Regions from separate parts of the Homo sapiens genome. Here region 1 is linked to region 2. The links are contacts of gene promoters, found by promoter capture Hi-C in human tissues and cell types (Jung and others, 2019). All regions are on one chromosome and are shown on one strand. The core of a region is centred on a gene start or on the middle of the fragment in contact, and the rest is flanking DNA. Distances in the headings are between cores, read along the strand shown. Region 1 overlaps SNTB2 (syntrophin beta 2). Region 2 holds the start of WWP2 (WW domain containing E3 ubiquitin protein ligase 2).

What was found. Contacts are between HindIII fragments. The study calls those that stand out against the background at their distance.
Region 1: a contact is called between a fragment that was not itself captured here and the fragment with the promoter of WWP2 in region 2, in 1 of the 25 tissues and cell types used here (aorta).

What each region holds. Positions count from the first base shown.
Region 1 is chr16:69,222,414-69,227,886 of GRCh38, forward strand. The region is part of intron 1 of SNTB2 (syntrophin beta 2); the gene reads left to right. Among named protein-coding and RNA genes, the nearest start is that of SNTB2, 38 kb to the left of the region's middle. The HindIII fragment of the contact is 3,089 bases long and covers 2,023-5,111 here.
Region 2 is chr16:69,758,412-69,763,716 of GRCh38, forward strand. It overlaps WWP2 (WW domain containing E3 ubiquitin protein ligase 2), which reads left to right and starts at 3,921. Exons shown (of 24, transcript NM_001270454.2): 1 at 3,921-3,980. RefSeq lists an enhancer at 3,726-4,304 and silencers at 4,008-4,147, 4,168-4,327, 4,348-4,397. The HindIII fragment of the contact is 7,232 bases long and covers 1,492-5,305 here.

The DNA.
Region 1 (5,473 bases), core at 2,317-4,816, 540 kb before region 2:
GAAACCCCGTCTCTACTAAAAATACAAAAATTGGTTGGGCGTGGTGGTGTGTGCCTGTAATCCCAGCTACTTGGGAAGCAGAGGTAGGAGAATCACTTGAACCTGGGAGGTGGAGGTTGCAGTAAGCTGAGATCATGCCACTGCACTCCAGCCCAGGCCACAGAGTGAGACTTCATCTCAAAAAAAAAAAAAAAAGATTTTATAAGATGTGTTAAAAAGCAAGATAAAAATTCTATGTATGATTATAGCTATTAAAATGCCTAGACACAAAATACATAGACAAAAAGACTAGAAGGAAAGATACGTTTTATTAGTAATAAAGATGACTATTTTATCTCTTTTCCAGATTTTCTGTGATTTGTTATTTTCTTTTCTTTTTTTCTGAGATGGGAGTTTTTGCTCTTGTTGCCCAGGCTGGAGTGCAGTGGTGCGAACTTGGCTCACTGCAACCTCTGCCTCCCAGGTTCAAGCAATTCTCCTGCCTCAGCCTCCCGAGTAGCTGGGATTACTGGCACATGCCACCATGCCCAGCTAATTTTTTTTTATTTTTAGTAGAGATGAGGTTTCACCACAGTGGCCAGGCTGGTCTCAAACTCCTAACCTCAGGTGATCCACCTGCCTCGGCCTCCTGAAGTACTTGTGAGCCACTGCGCCCAGCCGTTTTGTTCTTATTACTTACAATTCTTTTGCTTTTAGACTTAAAAGTTATAGAAATAATACAGAGTTTCCAGTTTCCCCGAATGTTAACATCTTGCATAACCATTATCAAAACTAAGAATTTTTTTTTTTTTTTTTTGATACAGAGTTTTGCTCTTGTTGCCCAGGCTGGAGTGCAGTCGTGTGATCTTGGCTCACTGCAACCTCTGCCTCCTGGGTTCAAGCGATTCTCCTGCCTCAGCCTCCCAAGTAGCTGAGATTACAGGCGCCCCAGCCACCACGCCTGGCTAATTTTTGTATTTTTAGTGGAGTCAAGGTTTCGCCATGTTGGCCAGGCTGGTTTCCAATTCCTGACTTCAGGTAATGCACCTACCTCAGCCTCTCAAAGCGCTGGGATTTCAGGCATGAGCCACCACACCCAGCCAACATTAGTATGATATTATTAAACTACAGTCTCTTTATGGTTTTCACCCATTTTTCCAGTAATGTCCTTTTTCTGTTCCAGGATCCCACATTACACTTCGTTGTCATGTTTCCTTTGTTTCCTCCAATCTGTGACAGTTTTGTTTTTTTTTTGAGACGGAGTCTCGCTCTGTCATCCAGGCTGGAGTGCAGTGGCCCAATCTCGGCTCACTGCAAGCTCCGCCTTCTGGATTCATGCCATTCTCCTGCCTCAGCCTCCCAAGTAGCTGGGACTACAGGTGCCCGCCACCATGCCCGACTAGTTTTTTGTATTTTGTTTGTAGAGACGGGGTTTCACTGTGTTAGCCAGGATGGTCTTGATCTCCTGACCTCGTGATCCACCCGCCTCAGCCTCCCGAAGTGTTGGGATTACAGGCGTGAGCCACCACACCCGGCCGACAGTTCTTCAGTCTTGTCTTTTCTTTTATGACCTTGACACTTTAGAAGAATACTGGTCAGTGGTTTTGTAGAATGTCCCTCAATTGGGTTTGTCTTATTTCATCATGAATATATGGAGGTTACTCATTCTTGGGAAGGAAACCAGAGAAGTGATGTATCATTCTCAGTGTATCATATTGGGCAGGGGTGGGATATGACTTCAATATTTCTTAATCTAGTCATATAAACCTTGATTACTGTCATGTTTCTCCACATAAAGTTACTATTTTTCCTTTGCAATTTTTTTTTTTTTTTTTTTGAGACGGAGTCTTGCCCTGTTGCCCAGGCTGGAGTGCAGTGGTGCGATCTTGGCTCACTGCAACCTCTGCCTCCCAGGTTCAAGCGATTCTCCTGCCTCAGCCTCCCTAGTAGCTGGAATTACAGGCTCGCGCCACCACGCCCGGCTGATTTTTTGTATCGTTAGTAGAGACGGGGTTTCACCATGTTGGCCAGGCTGGTCTCGAACTCCTGACCTCATGATCCGCTTGCCTTGGCCTCCCAAAGTACTGGGATTACAGGCGTGAGCCACTGTTTCCTTTGTAATTAATAAGTATCTTGGAAAATATGGTGAGATTATGCAAACACACAGTTATTCTTTAAACTTTTGCCCAGTAATTTTAGCATAAATCATTGGATCTTGCCTGCAACAATGATTACTATAGTGTTTTAATGATGATTTTCTATTTATCTCATGCCTACTACACTTACTAATGAGAATTCTTCTGTAAGAAAGAGCTGGCCCTTCTCCTCCATTTATGTATTTATTACATTATTTATATTATTGTGGACTCTTGGATATTTATTTTATTCTGTGGGTTATAATCCTGTATTACTGTTACTTATTTTGATGCTCAAATTGTTCCAGCTTTTGTTTTTATTACTTTTTCATTAAGAAAATTAATAAAACAAATTATCAGCAGATAAAGTTACAGTATGTGGGTTGACCAGTGTCACACAATATTACTTAACATGCAGTAGTTGATTGCTATTAACTCTGACGGTTCTGAGTTTACTACAGTGGAATTCATTAGTATGTGTTATGTAAGAATGAAGAGGGAAAGAACACGAAGACATCTTTGTCTTTTCTCTTTCCCTGAACTCAGTTAATTCTGCCTATTTGGTCTGAAAAGCTCTAATAACAATGAAGGCCTGGCAGTAACTTACAGGATTTCTTTTATACAAAAAAGAGAAAAGAAAATTACCAAGTATTTAAAGACATGGAAACTTGGAGGACTTTCTTGTTCCTAAGTGGTGACTCTAACTGGATGTTCAGGATGGAGTGGTTGCTGACCCTTTGAACACAGCTATTGTGCTGGGTTAATATTGTATTTCCGTCTATAGTTTATCATTCAGGGTGCTGATCTAAAACAAAGCATCCGGTTTATCCAGCTAGTCCAGAACATATCCACTTAGCAACAAAAATACGGATAACGATTTCCTTGCGCTTGAATTGCTATGGTTTTTTTGTTGTTGTCTAGTGGAAATTTCGTTGTCTCGTGGAAGTTTTGTTGTCTAGTGGAAAAACATTAGTAAGTATTTTTATATTTTTCAGTGATTTTATTTTATTTGCTGCTGTTACATCCAATTATGTGTAACATTGTATTTACACCTCTATAGCATGTATCATGTTTTGCCTTATTATAATTTCTACTTTATTAGTTGGCCTATTTTAGGGGACACATGTCTTCCTTTTATTCCTCAAGTAAATAACTTGAGGACAAGATTTGTGTGTCAAACATTTTAAAGATCCACGTGCTTTGCACATAGGAGAGAGTTGTTGAAAAGGGGGGAACATTGTAGCTCTTTTTGGTTTTGGAGACGGAGTCTCACTCTGTCACCCAGGCTGGAGTGCAGTGATGTGATCTCGGCTCAGTGCAGCCTCCGCCTCCTGGGTTCAAGTGATTCTCCTACCTCGGCCTCCTGAGTAGCTGGGATTACAGGCGCCCGTCTCCACACCTGGCTAATTTTTGTAGTTTTAGTAGACATGGGGTTTCACCATGTTGGCTAGGCTGGTCTCAAACTACTGATCTCAAGTGATCTGCCCGCCTCGGCCTCCCAAAGTGCTAGGATTAAAGGCATGAGATGCCCAGTTCTTCTGTTTTTTGTTTTTTGATTTTTCGAGAAGGAGTCTCACTCTGTTGCCCAGGCTGGAGTGCTATGGCGTGATCTCGGCTCACTGCAACCTCTGCTTCCTGGGTTAAAGCAATTCTCCCGCCTCAGCCTCCCAAGTAGCTGGGAATACAGGCACCCGCCATCATGACCAGCTAATTTTTGTATTTTTGTAGAGACAGGGTTTCACTATGTTGGCCAGACTGGTCTTGAACTCCTGACCTTAGGTGATCTGTCTGCCTCGGCCTCCCCAAGTGCTGGGATTACAGGCGTGAGCCACCATGCCCACCCTATGATTCTTAAGAGTAAAAAAAAAAAAAAAACTTTGTTTCCTATCATATGTGCTAGCAATAGATAAAACCCTATATGTTGGGTTCCTGAGGCAAGGACTGACTTTCTAATAAGAATATTTTAATCCATTATTGGCTCCTTATGATAGATAAGACTTCATTTATCTTTCTTGCTTTTCTCTGAGACAAGGTCTCCCACTGTCACACTGGAGTGCGGTGGTGGGATTGTGGCTCACTGCAGCCTCAACCTCTCAAGCTCAAGCAGTCCTCCCACGTCAGTGTCCTGAGTTGCTGGGACTACAAGCATATGCCACCACATCAGGCTAATTTTTAAATTGTTTTGTAAAGACGGGGTCTCGCTATGTTGCCCAAGCTGGTCTTGAACTTGTGGGCTCAAGCAATCCTTCTGCCTTGGCCTCACAAAATGCTGGGATTACAGGTGTGAGCCATGGTGCATGGCCCTAAGGTTATGTTTTTATGTTACTGCAGGAGCAAACTGCTCATTCAGAAGCCATTTGTTTAAGCTTATAATTGTTTACTAAGGAGAATTTTGCTTTTATGGCAGGTTTGTTTTAATAAGAAATTTAGCTGAATTAACCCCTCAGCAGATAAGATTATACATATAGAGTCTATGTGACAACCTTCAGTATATGGAGAGAGTGACCATTTCCCAAATATTCACAAGCACATAGTGGGGCTGACCAAGGGCCTTTTATTCAAACAGTTGCAAGAATCCTTAATCTAGAGCAATTAGCAACAACATTTAACTGAATTGTGTTACTCATGCCAGAAATATTTCTGAGAATTTCACTAGGACAGACAAATTAGGACTGTAAAAGTATATCTGTATTTGTGCAGAATCTCTCATAATTCATCTAATCAATATTGACTGTACATCTTCTGTGCATTAGTGATTCCAGCTATGAACTGTTTCTCAATGCACTGACAATTTTTGACCAATGTATAAAATTTATTTGTGCTACACCTTTGTATGCGTATTGTTACAGTGATGCCATATAGAGTGGGGTTCACCTTGCTTTAAGAGGTTAGAAGCAACTATAATTAATTTCAAGCCACTGTCACAGAAATATTGGGTGTAACTGGAAAAAGACATGAATTTTGCCTTATGAATGTGCAAAATAATGTATTCAAGGCCTAATGGCTCTACACAAACCGCAACACAGTTCTGAAGGGTGACTAGGAAAAAAGTTTAAAAAACTATGAATAAACTCTGTAGAAGTGATGTGTTGTAATTATTGTTGACTTTTATAGTGTCTTGAGTTTTAATCCCTTCAGTGTCCCATTGGTCAAGTGGACAAGACAGACAAAACAAAAACTGTGACATATGGCGGATGCCATGTCAGTGATATGTAGAGTGTTAGAGGAATATAGATGAGGAAGGTTATATTCTATAAAAATTGGTCCTTTCCTGAAGGGGAGACAAAGAATGGTTAGCTTGCTGTTTCTCTGGATTTTTTTTTTTTTTTTTTTTTTTTTAAGATAAGTAAGATGGGGTC
Region 2 (5,305 bases), core at 2,671-5,170:
AAAGCCACTAGGTGTAGCTGACATGGTCAGTAAGTGGTGAAAATAACGTAACACCCAGACAAACTGATTCAGAGCCACTTTTTTCTCTCTTCTCTTCTTTTTTCTTTCCTTTCCTTTTCTCTCTCTCTCTTTCTTTCTTTCTTTCTTTTTTTTTTTTTTGAGACACGGTCTCTCTCTGTTGCCCAGGCTGGTGTGCAGTGGCATGATCATAGTTCACTGCAACCTTGAACTCCCAGGCTCAAGTGAGCCTCCTACCTCAGCCTCTCGAGTAGCTGGCACCACAGGCCCACACCACCATGCCCAGCTAGTTTTTTCATTTTTACTTTTGTAGAGATGAGAGTCTCATCATGTTGCCCAGGCTGGTCTGAAACTCCCAGGTTCAAGCAGTCCTTTAGCCTTGGCCTCCCAAAGTGCTGGGATTACAGGTGTGAGACACGGTGCTGTCCCTGAGCCACCTAATTATCCATTCTGTTATACTGACTGCTGCTTATGTGCCTTCACTTCATTTTGAGCAACGTGGGGCCAGAGTCTGTCTAATTTGTCTTAATAGTCTCACCCCACCTCCCTAAGCAACACACATAATTTGGTAGCAAATAATTCCTTGCTGAATTGAACAGAAGGTGTATTTAGTGACTTCTACGTTTCCTTGCAAATCTGAAATTTTATGATTATAAGATCCGGTGAATTTTGCTGAATGTCGACTTGGGTCTTCATGCAAACTTTCTTCATGAAGTCTTCACGCCAGCTGGATTCCTCAATTGTCATTTATCTGTCCTACCCCAAAAATCCTTCAGTGCTACTGAATATTGCCTTTCAGCAATTACCCAAATTCAGTCTTTCTCTTTTTTTGGGGTGGCGGGAAGGGGACTGAGTTTTGCTCTCGTCGCCCAGGCTGGAGCACAGTGGTGCGATCTCAGCTCACTGCCACCTCTGCCTCCCAGGTTCAACAATTCTCCTGCCTCAGCCTCCTGTGTAGCTGAGATTATGGGTGCCCGCCACCACGCCTGGCTAATTTTTGTATTTTTAGTACAGATGGGGTTTCACCATATTGGCCAGATGGTCTCGAACTCCTGATGTACGGTGATCCACCTGCCTTGGCCTCCCAAAGTGCTAGAATTACAGGCGTGAGCCATTGCACCTGGCTCAACCTTTCTCACCACTCAGTCTCTTCATTATCTAGAACGTGCCTGTGCTACCTGCCGTAACAGAGTATGGCTGGAGGCTATTTCTCATTTTCTAGTTTATCATATCAATTTTTTTTTTTTGAGACAGAGTCTCACCCTGTCATCCAGGCTGGAGTCCAGTGTGCAATCTTGGCTCACTGCAACCTCCGCCTCCCAGGTTCAAGCGATTCTCAAGCCTCAGGCTCCTGATTAGCTGGGACTACGGGTGTGTGCCACCATGCCCAGCTAATATTTGTATTTTTTGTAGAGATGGGTTTTCACCATGTTGCCCAGTCTGATCTCGAGCCCCTGACAGTCTGATCTGCCCGCCTTGGCCTCCCAAAGTACTGGGATTACAGGTGCCAGCCACCGCACCCTGTCAGATTTTATTCTTTTAATGTGCAGTGTGTGCTCTTTGCTTGTCCCTTCTCCCCTTTGGTGAACACTTACTCAGATGCCACTAAATCTTTTCTGCAGGGTTGTTAAAAAAAAGCAACAAAAGATAAAAAATGAAATATGAAAGAAGAAAACAAACCGAAACCAACAAATGCTAGTAAGTCAAGGAAATAGTCTCTAATTTATCTAGAACAGAATTAGTAAAACTGCCATCAATGGAACTGGAGAAGTTTTAGTTATAGTAGTTTTATAAATGAGACTAATATAGGGTTTAATGTACAAAGACAGGACTGTATCTCCTTGAAAGTTAATCTCTTGGATTTGGAGTGGTACTACAAAAAGTAGAGACTAAGTGTTCAACCTATTTATTTATTTAGATACAGAGTCTCACTCTGTCGCCCAGGCTGGAGTGCAGAGGCGTTATCATGGCTCACTGCCACCTCCGCCTCCCGGGTTCAAGCAATTCTCCTGCCTCAGGTTCTGGAGTACCTGGGATTACCCGCACCCGGACCATGCCCGGCGAATCTTTTTTTTTTTTTTTTTTGTAGTTTTAGTAGAGATGGGGTTTCACCAGGTTGGCCAAGTGGGTTTCGAACTCCCGACCTCAGGTAATCCACCTGCCTCTGCCTCCCAAAGTGCTGGGATTACAGGCGTGAGCCTCCACGCCCCACCAGCCAATTTAATTTGTATGCATGATAGAATCCATCCCAATTCGAAGACCCAAAAATAACAGATTAGTACAAGTCTTTGAGGCTAATTACGTCATTAGTATTAATTTTAATCAATGGTGATTAAACTGAGCCTTCATTCAACTTGTCCAGAACATCAGTCAAGAATGTCTATTTAAAATGTTCTTGGAGGCCGGGCGCATTGGCTCACGCCTATAATCTGAGCACTTTGGGAGGCCAAGGCAGGTGGATCATCTGAGGTTAGGAGTTTGAGACCAGCCTGGCCAACATGGTGAAACCCCATCTCTATTAAAAATACAAAAATTAGCCAGGCATGGTGGTGGGTGCCTGTAGTCCCAGCTACTCAGGAGGCTGAGGAAGGAGAATTGCTTGAACCTGGGAGGCAGAGGTTGCAGTGAGCCAAGATTGAGCCACTGCACTCCTGCCTGGGCTACAAGAGTGAAACTCTGTCTCAAGCAAGCAAATAAATAAATAAATAAATAAATAAATAAAGTTATTGGGCAGGCACAGTGGCATTCGCCTGTAGTCTCAGCTACTTGGGAGGCTGAAGCAAGAGGACTGCTTGAAGCTGGGAGTTCGAGCCCAGCCAAAGCAACCTATCCAGACCCATCTCTTAAAAAAAATATTTCTCTGCCAGGTGCGGTGGTTCATGCCTGTAATCCCAGCACTTTGGGAGGCCAAGGTGGGCGGATCATTTGAAGTCAGGTGTTCGAGACCAGACTGGTCAACATGGAGGAACCCTGTCTCTACTAAAAATGCAAAAATTAGCCAGGCGTGGTGGTGCACGCCTGTAATCCCAGCTACTCGGGAGGCTGAGGCAGGAGAATTGCATGAACCGGCGAGACGGAGGTTGCAGTCAGCTGAGACTGCACCACTGCACTCCAGCCTGGGCGACAGAGCGAGGCTCCATCTCAAAAAAAAAAAAAAAAATATCATCTATCTATCCACCTACCTACCTACCTACCTACCTGGATTATAATTCATTAAGTTCTCTGTGCCCTGTAGTTGTAGATTAAGGGAATGCGATTGGATTAGTGTGGAGGGGCTTTTTATGGAGCCAAGCAGGAGTTTTTAAGCTTTTGTACTTTTGCTTCATGTCACAAGGACAGATGCCCCACAAAGGCTGAGATGTTTGTGGTCCTGGATCTTAGAACAGTGCCTGGCACATAATAGGCATAAGGTTGCCAGGAAATAGAAATACAGATACTCAATTCAATTTGATCTTCAGATAATCAAAAAATACTTTTTTTAGTATAAATATGTCCCATTCTGTATTTGGGACATACATATTACACTGTTGTTTATCTGAAATTCAAATTTAAGTGGGTGTCCTGTACTTTATCTGGCAACCCTACTAAAGGAGCTCAATTAAGTATTTGCTGACTTAACAGTCTGAAGGTCTCGTTTCACCTGTAAAATGGGGCTAGTACCTGTCCCTGCCTCTATAAGGTTGATGGGCAGAGTAGGTGGCATTCAGTGAGCCCTCAATTTATTTGATTGCCTGGGACCATCCGGTGAGCAGAAACCCTTCCACTTTCAACTACAGAGACGATAAAAAGGCCTCCTCGAGGCCAGAGGTGCCCAGGCCAGGCCTAGGTGGCCCGCACCTGCGAGCCTGGCCAGCCTCTTCCGGGTCAGGTGACCGCGCGCGGTCACGTGACCCGGCCCGAGTGCGGGCGGTGGAAGGCGGAAGTAGGAGAGGAGTTCGGCGCCGCTTCTGTGGCCACGGCAGGTAGCGAGCGCTGGCGCGGGGGGCGCGGTGGGCTGGCTGCCTGCACGGGGCGGGCCGGGGGCGGCGGGCGGCGCGGGGTGGGCCGGGGGCGGCGCGGCCCGGGCGTCGGGGGGCGGCGGCTTCCTGTGGGAGGGGCCTGGCGCGGCGGTTCCGGCCTCCGAGGAGGGGTGTCCCGGCTCCCGCCCGAGTGGGGTGGGCGCGCCGCGGCCCGCGCGGGGGTTGCTCCGAAATGGGTGCCCCGGCCGCCAAGGGTGCAGCTGGAGCGAGTCCTCCCGGAAGGGGAGAGGAGCTTAGGTTCCCAGGCATGGAGAGGAGCGATCTTTGTGGAGGGATCGGGACCAGGGGAAGGGGCGACTTGGAACTGAGCTGGAAGGGGGTGCCTGAAAATGGGTTTATGGCGTGGAGCCAGAGGGAAAAAGATGCTGCCTGGACCCCCTCTGAGAGTCTCTCCCTTCCTTCCTGTTTGGAAATGATTGTTACCCGAGACTTTGATGACGGTCCCATTCAGTTTTTAAACTTCAGGAGGGATCACAGAATCTTGATCGTCTTGCTTCCCTCGCGCCCACTTAGTCCTGCGTGGGTAGGGTTTCCACTTCTTGGGAGCCTAGCCCTTCAGCTCATTTTTCTTTGAGATTTTCCCTGAACGGGCCATCATCGAGGCTTTAAAAAACAAAAAAAGAAAATAAATTAAAAAAATAAGTGTGGGCACTTTGCCTGTAAAATGGCTTTTAGCTTACACTGTTGACCTAGCCCAGCGTTACCTCAGCAACATAGTGACTGCTGAAATCTTGGACAGAGAAGTGTCTACCTAGACTGCTTTATGACTTTTCTCTTTCTTCCGTTTAAATTATTCAGTTTCCCTTAGCTTATCTTGTGACTGCTTATCTTGACGAACTGTAACTAGGTAGGGTGCCTGAGAGGTCTGTGTTATGTTCCTTAGAACTGTGACCTGGATCATGATTTTGAGATTGAATACTTGTGTTAAAGCCTGTTCATCTTCCTGTTTCTCATGTTTACTAAAATTTGCAGAAGCAAAAGGAGTTTCATGAGTGCAGTGTAACTGGAACGAATGTTCAAACTGGACATTCACAGCAGCCAGCATCGTTTTGGGTTACAAGTAGGAAAAAGTACTTTCCTAATGTATTATGAGTTCAAGTTTTTGGAGTTATTTGACAAACATTTAAAAATTAGTTTTTGCAGCAGCGCCTATGAGTGAGGTTGGGAAGATGTATTCTCATTTCACAGGGAACAAACAGACTTACGAGAGACGACTTGATTTTTTAAAACAATTTATTGCTCTTTCTTGTTTGCTGGCCTCTTCCTGC